Regions from separate parts of the Homo sapiens genome. Here region 1 is linked to region 2. The links are contacts of gene promoters, found by promoter capture Hi-C in blood cells and fetal thymus (Javierre and others, 2016). All regions are on one chromosome and are shown on one strand. The core of a region is centred on a gene start or on the middle of the fragment in contact, and the rest is flanking DNA. Distances in the headings are between cores, read along the strand shown. Region 1 holds the start of PON3 (paraoxonase 3). Region 2 holds the start of DYNC1I1 (dynein cytoplasmic 1 intermediate chain 1).

Region 1 (6,062 bases), core at 597-3,096, 380 kb after region 2:
GGTAAGGTTAATAAGAAGTAATGTGACAAGGCATGCAAACGCTGAGTGAAATAATAATATGACTATTATTATTTCATTATTCATTCCATTTATTTTTTATTCTTCTAATTTTTCTTTCTCCCAAGTCCATATTTTACATCCATCCATCTAATCATATTTATTGAGTCATTATTAAGCACAAAGTTCTATGGATGGCACGGGAAAACCCAGTGATCAATGCGATGGAGTCCTTCCCACAGGAGCCTACAATCTCAAGCAAAGTTCAGAATTAATTAGTGGTTAATCTTTACTGACTTCATAAAACGTATCAAGCACAGTGCAGAGCACTTGACACTCATTATCACATTTAATTTTAAGCTACCTATGAGGTGGACGTTCTTTTACAGAAGAGGAATCTGTAGCTCAATAAAGCTGAGTACTTTATCTAGGCTGGATCCAAACCCAGGCAGCCTGACTCCCAAACCCTGCATGCATGTCTACATCACACCCCAGGCCCCTCAGCTCTGTGAGCCCTCCTGACTTCGATTCCTCCTCTGCTTGCACTCTTTTAACATTAGTCATCTTAACAAGAACTCTAATCTATACAATTCAAGACGTTACACTGTCCTTTTAATACAACCCTTCTTCCATAGATTTTCTAGAGGCAGCATGGTAGAGGCAGCTCAGTTAAGGGCCCAGATTTTGGAGTCTGCTGCTTGACAGCTGCCTGACCTACAGCAAGCCACATAAGCAATCTGTGCTGCAGGTCTCACCTGTAAAATTGGGGTAAGGCTACCCACACTCCAGAGATTGTGTTGATAATTAAATGCGTTAACATAGGTGTCAGCACAGGCAAAGCACACAGTCAGTACTGCATAAGCGGTGGGCTTCATTATTCATCCTGTAATTACGTATTCATACTAGAATCATGTATCCCATAGGTCAGGGACCACCTTTTCTTTCCTTAATACCCCCAGGATTGGCAAATCTTGCTCTCTCAACAAATAGTTTACTCGGTGGAACCTAACAGAACTAATATTTCTTTCTGTCCGTAAATAAAAATAGATCATGCTTGAATGTGCTACTTTGCCCGAACTCCCCAAGTCTTCCCGCATCTTCAGTTCCTCCCCCTCCAACCTGGTGTTCATCAGGAGAGGGGAAAGAGCATTTCTTGCCTGGCAGGAACTCAAGACCTAGAAGAAAGAGGGCCTACCCTGCCAAGGAAATGACCTTCCCCTTCCTCGCCTCTGCTCCTCTTCCCGTTTCCTGTCTTTTCCTTCTTTTCTCCTGGTGTTTCCTTCTCCCGTTAACTATGGGGACAGACGCAGCTATTCACAAGTCCGTCTGGGCAGCACACTCCGAGGTAAGGCACGAAGGTCAGGAGACAGGTTCCCGTGCCCCAAATCCTGGAGAAGATGAGTTAAAGCTCTTCGCTTCGATTGCCTTCGCCCTTCCCGCGTCTCGGGAGCAATTCAGTGTCGCCTCACGTCTGGCCTTGCAGAAGTCCGGAGTTCCGGCTCTGAACTGGAGCTCCCCGCCATTCCCGGGCCCTCCGGTTTCTCCCTCAGGCCATCTGAGGAATTGAGGTAGGATTTCGCGGGTGTTAGGAGCAAACTCCCACCACAACTCGGTCCCGGGCTCCCTCTCCGTTGAGCCTTGACCTCTGCCCAAAAAACAAGGAATCGTGGGCGTGAAGGCGGCCTTGAACCCGGGCGGCGGGGCTCGGCGGGACTCGTCAGCGCCCTGCTGCGGCACCCGGGCCGCTCAGGTAAGTAGGAGGCGTGTGCGGGCGGGGCCGAGCGGGCCCCAATCCGTACGCGAGGCAGGAACCGCCCGCCGCGCCCCCGAGAGCTCTCGGCGCCGCGCAGTCGCCGCTGGGCACCCCGAGACCATGGGGAAGCTCGTGGCGCTGGTCCTGCTGGGGGTCGGCCTGTCCTTAGTCGGGGAGATGTTCCTGGCGTTTAGGTGAGTGGCATCTTGACAGGGCGTCTTCGACTCTCTTTCTCTCCTCTTCCAAGTGAGGTCAGGGGCTGCCTGGCGCCCCCTTCCTAGCGGGTAGGAAAGAGCAGCTTTGGAACCTCACTCCTCCATCTCACCCAGCAAACCGCCCCTTGAGACTCGCTTATGGGGAAAGTGAGCTACTTGCGTTTCCAAAGACTGCCGAGCCGAATTAGTCCCATTTATTTTTTGAAGGTTATGATCCCCCACTTTGCTTTCTGAAGGTCATGACCCCCTTTTACTTTCTGAACGTGATGACCCCTTTCCCAGCTCGCCCTCAACATTCTGCTTGGGAAAAAAGGACGTCCATTGGAAACGCCGGACTTGGGAGAGAGGATCAGGCTACCAGTTGGATGTTTACGGCTGACTGAGACATTGCCCAGGTCTGGCTAACCATGCAGAAGTACTGGGTTATGGAACCTATCCTAGATTTAAAGAGCTGGCCAGACAGCAGGGCAAACCAGCTGAAACCTGCAGGCGGTAACTGGCATTTTGTAGGCATTTGACCTTTTGAAGTGGAAGATACAATGGTGATAGCCAGCCTAGAAATGTCTCAGGAAAAGTCAATACTGGGCTAGAAAGAAGAACCTTTAAGTGATAATACACATTCATGAGTGGATCGAAAGCCTCTGCTTGCTTTCAGTTGTCTTTGAGTGTTTATGTATTTCTCTTAGTTGAAGCTGGTCTTCTTAGAGGATCACGTCTAGAATCTGTTGAGGTGCCTGGTGCCTATTAGTAATACTTCCAGTTTGAGAGTTTTATTGTTACATTTGCTCCCAGTGCAACCACATGGAGAATCATAAAATAATAGTAATAATAATAAAGTAGATCTAAGGGTATTTTTTTAAATAAATGACTGTAAGATAAGTATTGAGTCTTTCTGAATATACTTTAATAAAAATTTTAAATTATCCCTGATATTAGAAGAATGTGGAAACATTCCTTTTCACTCTGGAAACAAGAAAATTGTGTTGAAAAATAAATCGGCCAATTGTTTAAATTGTGGTTGGTTTAATGAATTTACATACTTGCGGAGTAAGTCAGCATAAAATTTAAAAATTAAAGCAAAAGTGATAGAGTTTGACTATTAGGAGACCCTGTTGAATTTTGGGAAAGCAGTTTGGAAGGAAAAGTTCAAAGGGCAAGACTGTAGGGGATTAAGTGCAGATTTATAACAGACGATACTTTAGAAAATTAGGGCTATTTCGTGCATTTAAATTAATAATATTGTTCAATTACTCATACTATTAAATAGTGTCTTTTATTTGGGCAGCAGAATTTTCCATGTTGAATCATATTATACAGTTTTTCAGCAATAACTGGGTAAGGTTAGCTGATATAGGTAAAATACCCACATAATGTCTACATTATGTAAATAAACATGAAAGGAAGTACCTACTTACTTGTTATGTCATTCATAAATTATGATAAAGATAGTTAACCAACACGAAGATGATTGAAGTCCACATTTAAACATACATTTTGAATGCTGTGCCTTGACTTCCAGGGTTGGGTTTTATCTTCTACAGAGAAAGGGTGAATGCCTCTCGAGAAGTGGAGCCAGTAGAACCTGAAAACTGCCACCTTATTGAGGAACTTGGTATGTATGTGACAGTACCAAGAGGAGCCAGCACAGCTTCTTGGTCGTCATCCACCTGACTGAGCCCTACCAGCTCATTTAATTACCTGTCACTACTTAAGCCCTCCCAGTGGGACATCTGCCCCGTCCACTCTGCCCCATGCAAGGTCTTCAGGGGTGTACTAAATGACATTCTTTGTGGGTTTTTCTCAGCACATTTCCTTACTGACATCTCTCCACATTACCTAAAGAATGTCATTGACCACTCCCTGGTTTTCCCCTCACTGAATGCTTCTCCTTTCCCATCTGTGGTATTTCACTCTCCTCCTTGTCCTCTGTTACCTTTCCTTTTTTTGCTTCTTTCTTCTTTCCTTCCTCCCTCCCTTTCCTTATTGTCATTCCTGGCTTCAAGTGTTATTTTTTTTCAAATAATATGACTCAGCCCCTCCCCTCAAGAACCTCACAGCAGGCTGGGCGCAGTGGCTCACACCTGTAATCCCAGCACTTGGGAGGCCGAGGGGGGCGGATCATGAGGTCAGGAGATCGAGACCATCCTGGCCAACATGGTGAAACCCCATCTCTACTAAAAATATAACAATTAGCCGGGCATGTTGGCGGCGTGTGCCTGTAATCCCAGCTACTCGGAAGGCTGAGGCAGGAGAATCACTTGAACCAGGGAGTCATCGGAGGTTGCAGTGAGCTGAGATCGCGCCACTGTACTCCAGCCTGGCGACAGAGCGAGACTTTGTCTTAAAAAAAATAATAAACGAAGGAACCTCACAGCCTACCTACCTTCTTTTAAAAAAATTCATAAAAAATCCATGGCCCAGTCCCTAACCTTTCAAACTGCAGCCCTTCTTTTTTAGTCAGTTAAAGGGCAGCTCCAGCTCAAACTCTCCCTAAGCTGAAATCTATTTTACATTTCTGTCGTTTTCTCCCTCATCCTCCCACCCACAACCAGCTCTGCTTCTAGACTTTTCCTATGTATGGTACCCCCATTCTCAAAAGATTCAGTTCAAAATCCAGGAACCATTGTTCCCCGCTTGTCCCTCATGCTTCTACGTGAGACATGGGCTAATCTCACCTACTAGTTAATGCCACACCTGCTTATTTGGGCTCCACAGCTCCAATTCTTCCTGACATTGCTAACAGAAAAATAAAATAAAATCAGGCTAGATTGTGTTCCCTGTTCTGGGAATATGTTCTTTCACCTTCTCACCTTTGCTTATGAAATTCCCTCCAAACTTACTGATTCCTCTGTCTCTGCTTACTAAAATCAGCTGCAAAATTCATCTCCTTCCTCTGAACTCTCACAGCACTCTGAAGCTCCGATTCACTTATGACACCTGCCACATGCCTTGTATTATAGCTAGCAGTGTTCTCTCTTTCACTATCAGATTGTAAACTCCCTAGGGCCAAGAACTGTGACTTATTTATTAGAATGTGATGAGATAGCTTATTTTGGGATATGATTTTCTATTTTATTGCTATATTTAAAAATACAGAAAAAGTACCCTTTTGATTTGAGTTTTCTGCCTTTTCTTGCCTCTCAATTTCTAAAAAATAAAGTAATCTGAACCTTGCACTCCCTAGTCTTAGAGGTGGTTTGTGCTAGCAGCTGGAAAGCAGAAGAAACCAAAGAAAACGCCTTTCCTGAATTGTTTTTAAAAACCTGAGCCCCTTCAAGGGATTCTGTTGGAGAAGGGATATGAATATGTGGATATCTTTGAATAATGGGGATCCTTACCCCACTGGCTGACAGCATTCTGGGAGAGGAGCAGGACCTCAGAAGGAATGGTTGCAAGGTATCTTTAGGGACGCTGGACCCTGTGTTCCAGCTAAGGTAAAGACCTTGTGTCAATGCATTACATGGAAGTAGCAGAATTGTCTAAATTAAAGGGACCAGTAACTTTGGCAATGAATAATTCGATGATACGTAGTGTAGAATGAATGCCAGATGGCCTTTCCAAAACATTCTGCTTAGGTTTAGAACCCACCACTTAAAATGATTTCATAACCCTAACAGACAAACCCAGTAATGACTCAGATTGGATTTTCCATCAACTTAGTGGAATAGGATATCAGAGTGATTTAATTTGATTTTAAAAATAAGGAAATGTGACATTTACTCATTTGTTTACTGTTTTGTGGTGTAGTAGTATTCATATTCACTATACAAATAACTGTCAAAATATATAAGCCTGCAAATAATCAAGAGGTATAATTAGACTAGATGATTGGTAGGGTCTAGTCTGACTCGAATTGTATCACTCAACTAGATTTGAGAAGGTAAAATTACAGTTAATATTGTGAGTCTTAGGTCAATGTTCTGATTTGCCAAATATTTTGAAGAAAATGGCTTAAATAGTTGGAAGCAGGCTGGGAGCAGAAGAAAGAAATGCCATGTTACTTCTCATGTCTATTGGCATATGTTTGGTGAACTAAACAAGTTAGAATGATGATGGGTCATGTGTCAGTAGGACAATACTGATATATATGTTTTGAA
Region 2 (6,249 bases), core at 1,869-4,368:
TAATTTATTTTAAGGGGCCATGGGTCTACTTTGAGTGTGCATATATTATTCACAGTTACCAATCAACTGGCAAAAAGTGCGGCTATACTTGTGGCTTTAAGAAAATAACAATGGATCACACTGAAATTGGAGAGCAAACCTGAAAGATACAGACATACACTCGCTTTTTTGTCTCTCACACAGCACAATAGCCAAAATGGATGGGTCCTAGTTTTAGAGTCTTTGGAGAGATCTCATTTGAATCCTACCTCTGCCATTTATTAAATGATGTTGAGTATGTCATTTAACTCATTTAATTATTTGGAAAATATGGATAATAATGTCTACTTCATAGGATTAATATAAGAATTAAAATGAGATAAGAGAAGAGCTTGGTATTCAATATATGAAAATTAACCAGTGTAATTGTTTCATAGTACGGAAGAGAGAGGTTAAAACTCCTGGCCTGGAGTCAGGCCTTGATTCAAATGCTGCCTTGCTCAACTTAGTAGCTGAGCAAAAGTTACTTGACACCTTTGTGTCTTAGTTTCCTCATCTGTAAAACAGGATTACAAACAATATCTGCCTCATAAGATTTTTGTGATGTTTAAATAAGTTAACACCTGTGAAAGTATTTTAAAATGCAATGCCTGGTAAAGTGCTCAATATATTTTAGCTACTGTTATCAATCTTTGTTTCAAGTGTAGGGAGAATAAAGTAATGAAGGAATATATTTGTTTGAAACAGATTTTGAAACAGATGCATGTGACCTTTTCATTTGATGCTACGTTAAACAACAAAGAAACTGGAGAAAACGGTAACAGGATGAAGCCGGTGCACACTGTCTGTACTAAGAGGGGTACCTAGATTTCAGATTTGGCATGCATTTTACAAGACTGGTCTACATCGCTGTTTTTATGGACAGAGCAGCACCCAGGCTGGATCCTTGACTCAGCACTGTCATCAAAGGCAAGGCTCATTTATTAAACGTAGACTCGGGAAGGAGTATTTTTGGAAGCAGAGGGATTGGGAAGAAAGACCCTAGAGCCTTCTCTGAGATATAAAACATGGTGACTGAAATGCCAAGTGACTTCTTACTCTCTTCGAAGTTAGTCAGAAACTGAAGACCATGGACCACTACTTTAAGAACTCTGCCCCTTTTCCTGCGGGTCGAGTTTATTTTCTCTGCTCATATCCCTACTGGTGATTTACCTAAAGCTTTAACAGTAAAACAATCATGCATGTTTTCAATAGCAAAGAGGGAGGAAAGGCTGGGGGTGGGGAAGGACTGCAAGCCAGCCCCTCCTCCTCCAGGGGACTGTGCACCAGCGGCTGCAGCATCTCAGAGGTCCAAAGAAGGAGGAAGCAAGTGCATTTGTATCTGAGGCCTGAGACAAGGAAGACAAAGTAAAATGCTGAGATGCTGTGGGCCAGAAACAGGGCTAAGAGCTTGACAGGCTGGAAAAGCCTGCATTCGACCCCCAACTGTATTCTAAAAACTTCCCAAGGATGGTGCTAGAGGTTTTAAGAGGAATGGGTCTTGGAGCACTGGATCCTCAGACCTAAACAAATATTCGAGAGTTAGTTCTTATGAAGAGAACATGTGGTAACTCAGTGGCAGGTGTTTCAGATTTTATTTTATTGAGAAATATGATCAAAAGAGCTGAGTTAGGACCCCTTTTTCCACACCAAACCTTTTTGAACAAACTTGGCATTTTAAATAATTAGAGGTAGTATTACATTCTCACCAGTACCCTCAGCTTGCAAATTGCACTGAATATTCCCTTTTCAAATTTACTAACACTGATCAACGTATATCTCTATAATTTCCACAATTAAAGTATGTACACAGACTGGTTACCCATGTCTGTGTTAACATCAGGCGTTGGGTTGTCACCTGCAGTTGCCTATGCCTTACTGTTAGCTATACTTTTTGCTAATCTGGAATATTTGGAAGCAATTCTTCACAACTCTGAACTACAATAAGTCTACAATGCCCACTTGAAAGGCATTCCAAGCAAGAAAATGGCTGGCTACTTGTTCCTGCCCCTTACCTAGGATTAGTAGAGGCCAGAATAGCGAATATATTCCATCTTCTGCATGTTGTTGAGTCTCTGATCTCCTATGTAATTTCCTGTCCTGATCCTGGGCTTCTGTTTAATCTTATTAGCCAAGGTACAAGTCATGAGACTCCCGCACACTCAGTTCCCATCAGCGCTGCCAGGATCACTGCCCTTATGATGACGACGCACGGATTTATAAGGCCAGAGCGATTCCGAATGGGAGCGGGGGAAGGAGAGCCAGGCGGCCGTGAAGGTGTTTACCAAAACAACATCCCCCAGCCACACTTTTTCGCAGCAGAGAGAAACTGGCATCTTCTCGCTTTGAAGTGTTTAATTAATGCCCTGCTGGAAGTGAATTCGCTCCCTCCGACTTGCAGGGTAGTGACAGCATCTAAGAGCTTTGCAGACAGCTCGAAATGTAATCAAACAGCATCCTTTCCCCTCCCTCTGCAGCTTTCCCCCTCCTCCAGGGGCAGTCAGCCGGTGGCCCAGAGGGGTGCAGATTTCAGCGCCGCTCGCCCACTGCTCCCCCGGGGAAGACCGAGGCGGGGCGCACTGGGACGCCCTTCCCAGCCCACAAGGTGGGCGACCAGGTGGTGACACCACGACCCTTCCTTCTCTGCCCTAGTCTCTCGGCTCTGCCGAGAGGGGGGTGTCACTGGGGGGCTTTGGCCGCCTTCGGGCTCAGCGGAGCACGCAGGAGCCTGGGCAGGGGGCCAGGACAAGGGTCCGGCTGCGGCTGCAGGGGCCTCGGCTCCAGCCTGGTTCCCAGCGCAGACGACACCGGGGTGGGGAGGGTTGGGGAGAGGTGCGGAGGCGGCCGTCCGGGGAGCGGCGACATCCCGCTCCAGTTTACCTGGACGCGCTCGGCAGCGGCGGAACTGGGCTCCCCGAGCCGGCGGCGGCTCCTGGGCGGCGGCAGCGTTGGTGCAGGCGGCTCCCGAAGGTGGCGGGGCCGGCGCGGGCAGGATGTGCTGTCTCACGCTGCGCCGGCCGCTCGGCTCGCGCTCCTCCGGGAGCGATCACTTCCTCTCTCCCAGAGCCTGACACTGACAGCTCCCCGGAGCACTCAGTCTGCGGGGCTCGCCCCGCCCCCTGCCCACGCCCTCCACGCCCGCGCCCCTCCTGAGGGAGGGCCTCCGCTCCGCGTCTTCCGCGCCCGGTCTCGCCAGGAGGGGGTGGCGCCGCTCCGTAGGCTGGTGGCGAGCAGAGGACCTGGAAAGGTCAATTCGTCTATCCCTCTAACGTCGGTAGGACTTAGACCTCAGTTGCTGCAAAGAGAAGAGCTTCAATATTCTGGGAGCTCCTGCTGAAATGCCACCATTGAACAACTTTCACTCCCAGGCAACTACACTTCTTAAGGTCATTTAAATAGAAATAAAGCTCAGATCTACCTGTTGTACACAATGACTTATAGGTCTGATTGATCCCAATTTTTCTAGAAGAAAAAAGAATTAAGTGTGTGTGTCTGTGTGTGTGTGTGTGTGTGTGTGTGTGTGTGTGGTGTGGTGTGTGTGTAGCTTGTCTTCACATTGCTTCTTAAAGTCCCAGCTTTTAAAAATCTGGGTAACTGGCCAGACGCGGTGGCTCACGCCTGTAATCCAAGCACTTTGGGAGGCCGAGGAGGGCGGATCACCTGAGGTCGAGAGTTGGGGGACCAGCCTGACCAACATGAAAAAACCCCGTCTCTACTAAAAATACAAAATTAGCCGGGCGTGGTGGTGCATGCCAGTAATCCCAGCTACTCGGGAGGCTAAGGCAGGAGAATGGTTGAACCCGGGAGGCGGAGGTTGTGGTGAACCGAGATCCCGCCACTGCACTCAAAGCCTGGGCAACAAGAGCGAAACTCCGTCTCGGGGAAACAAAAAAAAATCTGGGTAACTATTATTGGACTCTGCAAAAAACAAGCTTGCCACAACAGCTAAGTTATAAGGCCAAAAAATTGAGTTTGGGATGTTAGGGGGTTTGGTATCATTTTATAGATGAGCTTTTCATCATATTTCTTGCACATCTGTGGTGTATTTTTACACATTAGAATGTAAATTAGTGGAGGGCAGGGACGCTATCTTGTTCACTGCTGTATTCTTAGTATCTAGAACAGCATTCTGATATATAATGGGTACTCAGTAAATATTTATGAACTTATTAATTCACAAGTACTACAGTAATTTCAAAATAAATACAGATTCTAGTATGAATACAGTATGAATACATACTCATCTGTAAATGGCCATCCTTATTCTAAAACTTTGGCCTCCCTGGCTAATCTACTGCGATTGTAACTATGGCTAGAAATGAAGAGGTTAAATGTCTAGGTAGAAGGTATTCAAGGTATTCCAGAAGGAAAAATCTAGGAAATAAATATTTGCCACTACCGTGACTGAATATTTAATACATGTCAATTCTACATACATTTTTCTTTAACTTTTCTATAACATTATGTAGTACATATAACGAATGCCATGCCTCCAGAAAAGGAACTTGAGTCAAAGAAGTTAACTCCCTTGCCCAAGTTCCATAACCACTGAGTGATCTAGCTGAGATTTGAATTCCCATTCATCTGCAGCTTGTACTTTAACTACTTTGTATTTTGGTCTTTCCAACATGGCATTGCTTTTGTTGTTGTTGTTGTTTTGTTTGTTTGTTTGTTTGTTTTTTGAGACAGAGTCTCCCTCTGATGCCCAGGCTGGAATGCAGTGGCACAATCTCGGCTCACTGAAACCTCCATCTCCTGGGTTCAAGCGATTCTCCTTCCTCAGCTTCCTGAGTAGCTAAGATTACAGGTGCACACCACCTAGCCCGGCTAATTTTTGTATTTTTAGTAGAGATGGCATTTCTCCATGTTGGCCAGGCTGGTCTCGAACTCCTGACCTCAAGTGATCTGCCTGCCTCAGCCTCCCAAAGTGCTGGGATTACAGGTGTGAGCCACCATGCCTGGCCTCAACATGGCATTGTTGAGTGCCCACGAAGTAGGAGCTGGGACTTAGACACTGGACCAAATTGAAGACTAGCTAAAACAGGGATGGGGCGGAGGCAGCTTTCCATAAGAGATGCTCACCAGTGTGCCATGTCAATTTACCACTGCCGTGGCAAAACCCAGGAGTTACCACTCCCTTCCATGGCAATGACCCCATGACCCAGAAGTTACTACCCTTTCCCTAAAAATTCTGCATAAACTACCCCTTGATCTACAAGTAATTAAAGTAGGTACAAATATGACTGCAAAACTACCCTGAGCTGTTACTTTCTGCCTGTGGGGTAGCCTTGCTCTGCAGGAACAGTCACAGAGCTGTAACACCATCAGAGCTGTAACACTGCCACTTCAACAAAGCTGTACTTTTCAACCCTACCACTGGCTCACCCTTAAATTCTTTCCTGGGCAAAGCCAAGAACCTTTGCGAGCTAAGCTCCAATTAATTTGGGGGCTCCCCTGTACTGCATCGCACACAACCTGCAAAGCATTGTGCTTGGAGCTTCACATGATTTAAAAAAGAGAATATAATCCCTCTTCTTGAAGGGGTTAAAATCCAGTTGGAGGTGCAAGGATAGGTAAAGGCAACATAATTAAGGACAAACAATAAGGAAATACCCAAAGCAGTACAATGGTTTGGGTGGATGAGATGGAAGGAGGAAATTAGAATTATGACAATAGATAGTATTGAAATAGGTAGGGTTTTAGAGCAGAAATGAAGAGCAGAGAACATTTTCAGGCGTAAACAAAGCTCCAAAGAAGAGAAAGAACAAAGTGTACTCAGCAAATAGTGAGTGGGCCAGCTTTTTGGATCATGACAGACTCATGGGAGAGCCAACTGGGGCCTTGAGAAGGGCTGTAGAGCAGATAATGGAGAATCATTAAAGGCCTTTGAGTAGAGAATGACACTTGGGAAGAGTCATCTGGGGCTATCTTCGGGTAGAGGATTGAACAAGCAAAAGCTTAAGAGACAAGTTTAAAGTTCATTCAAAGAATCCAGGTCAGGATTTAAAAGGCCTGAGTTTGCCAAGTTGTATTCATGACAAATAGCCTGTAATGTATGCCCACAGCAAATTAAGCCCTCAATTTCAAAGTTAGTTATAATATTATCACTTCTCAGTATTTAACCAAAATAATTCAAAGTAGGATTTCAGAGAGATATTTGCACATTCATGTTCAATGCAACATTATTCACAATAGCCAAGAGGTGGAAGCAACCCAAATGTTCATGAACAG

Evidence for each region. The method cuts DNA at HindIII sites, captures the fragments that hold promoters and counts their contacts. A CHiCAGO score of 5 or more calls a contact.
Region 1: the fragment with the promoter of PON3 here is called in contact with the fragment with the promoter of DYNC1I1 in region 2 in 4 of 17 cell types (monocytes, M0 macrophages, M2 macrophages and 1 more); the score reaches 10.0 in monocytes.

What each region holds. Positions count from the first base shown.
Region 1 is chr7:95,392,159-95,398,220 of GRCh38, reverse strand. PON3 (paraoxonase 3) reads left to right here and starts at 1,846. Exons shown (of 9, transcript NM_000940.3): 1 at 1,846-1,944; 2 at 3,507-3,577. The coding sequence starts at 1,871. It overlaps LOC107986822 (a long non-coding RNA gene), which reads right to left and starts at 1,749. Exons shown (of 2, transcript XR_007060439.1): 1 at 1,193-1,749. The HindIII fragment of the contact is 14,130 bases long and covers 1-6,062 here.
Region 2 is chr7:95,769,423-95,775,671 of GRCh38, reverse strand. It overlaps DYNC1I1 (dynein cytoplasmic 1 intermediate chain 1), which reads right to left and starts at 3,118. Exons shown (of 17, transcript NM_001135556.2): 1 at 2,899-3,118. The HindIII fragment of the contact is 2,753 bases long and covers 1,200-3,952 here.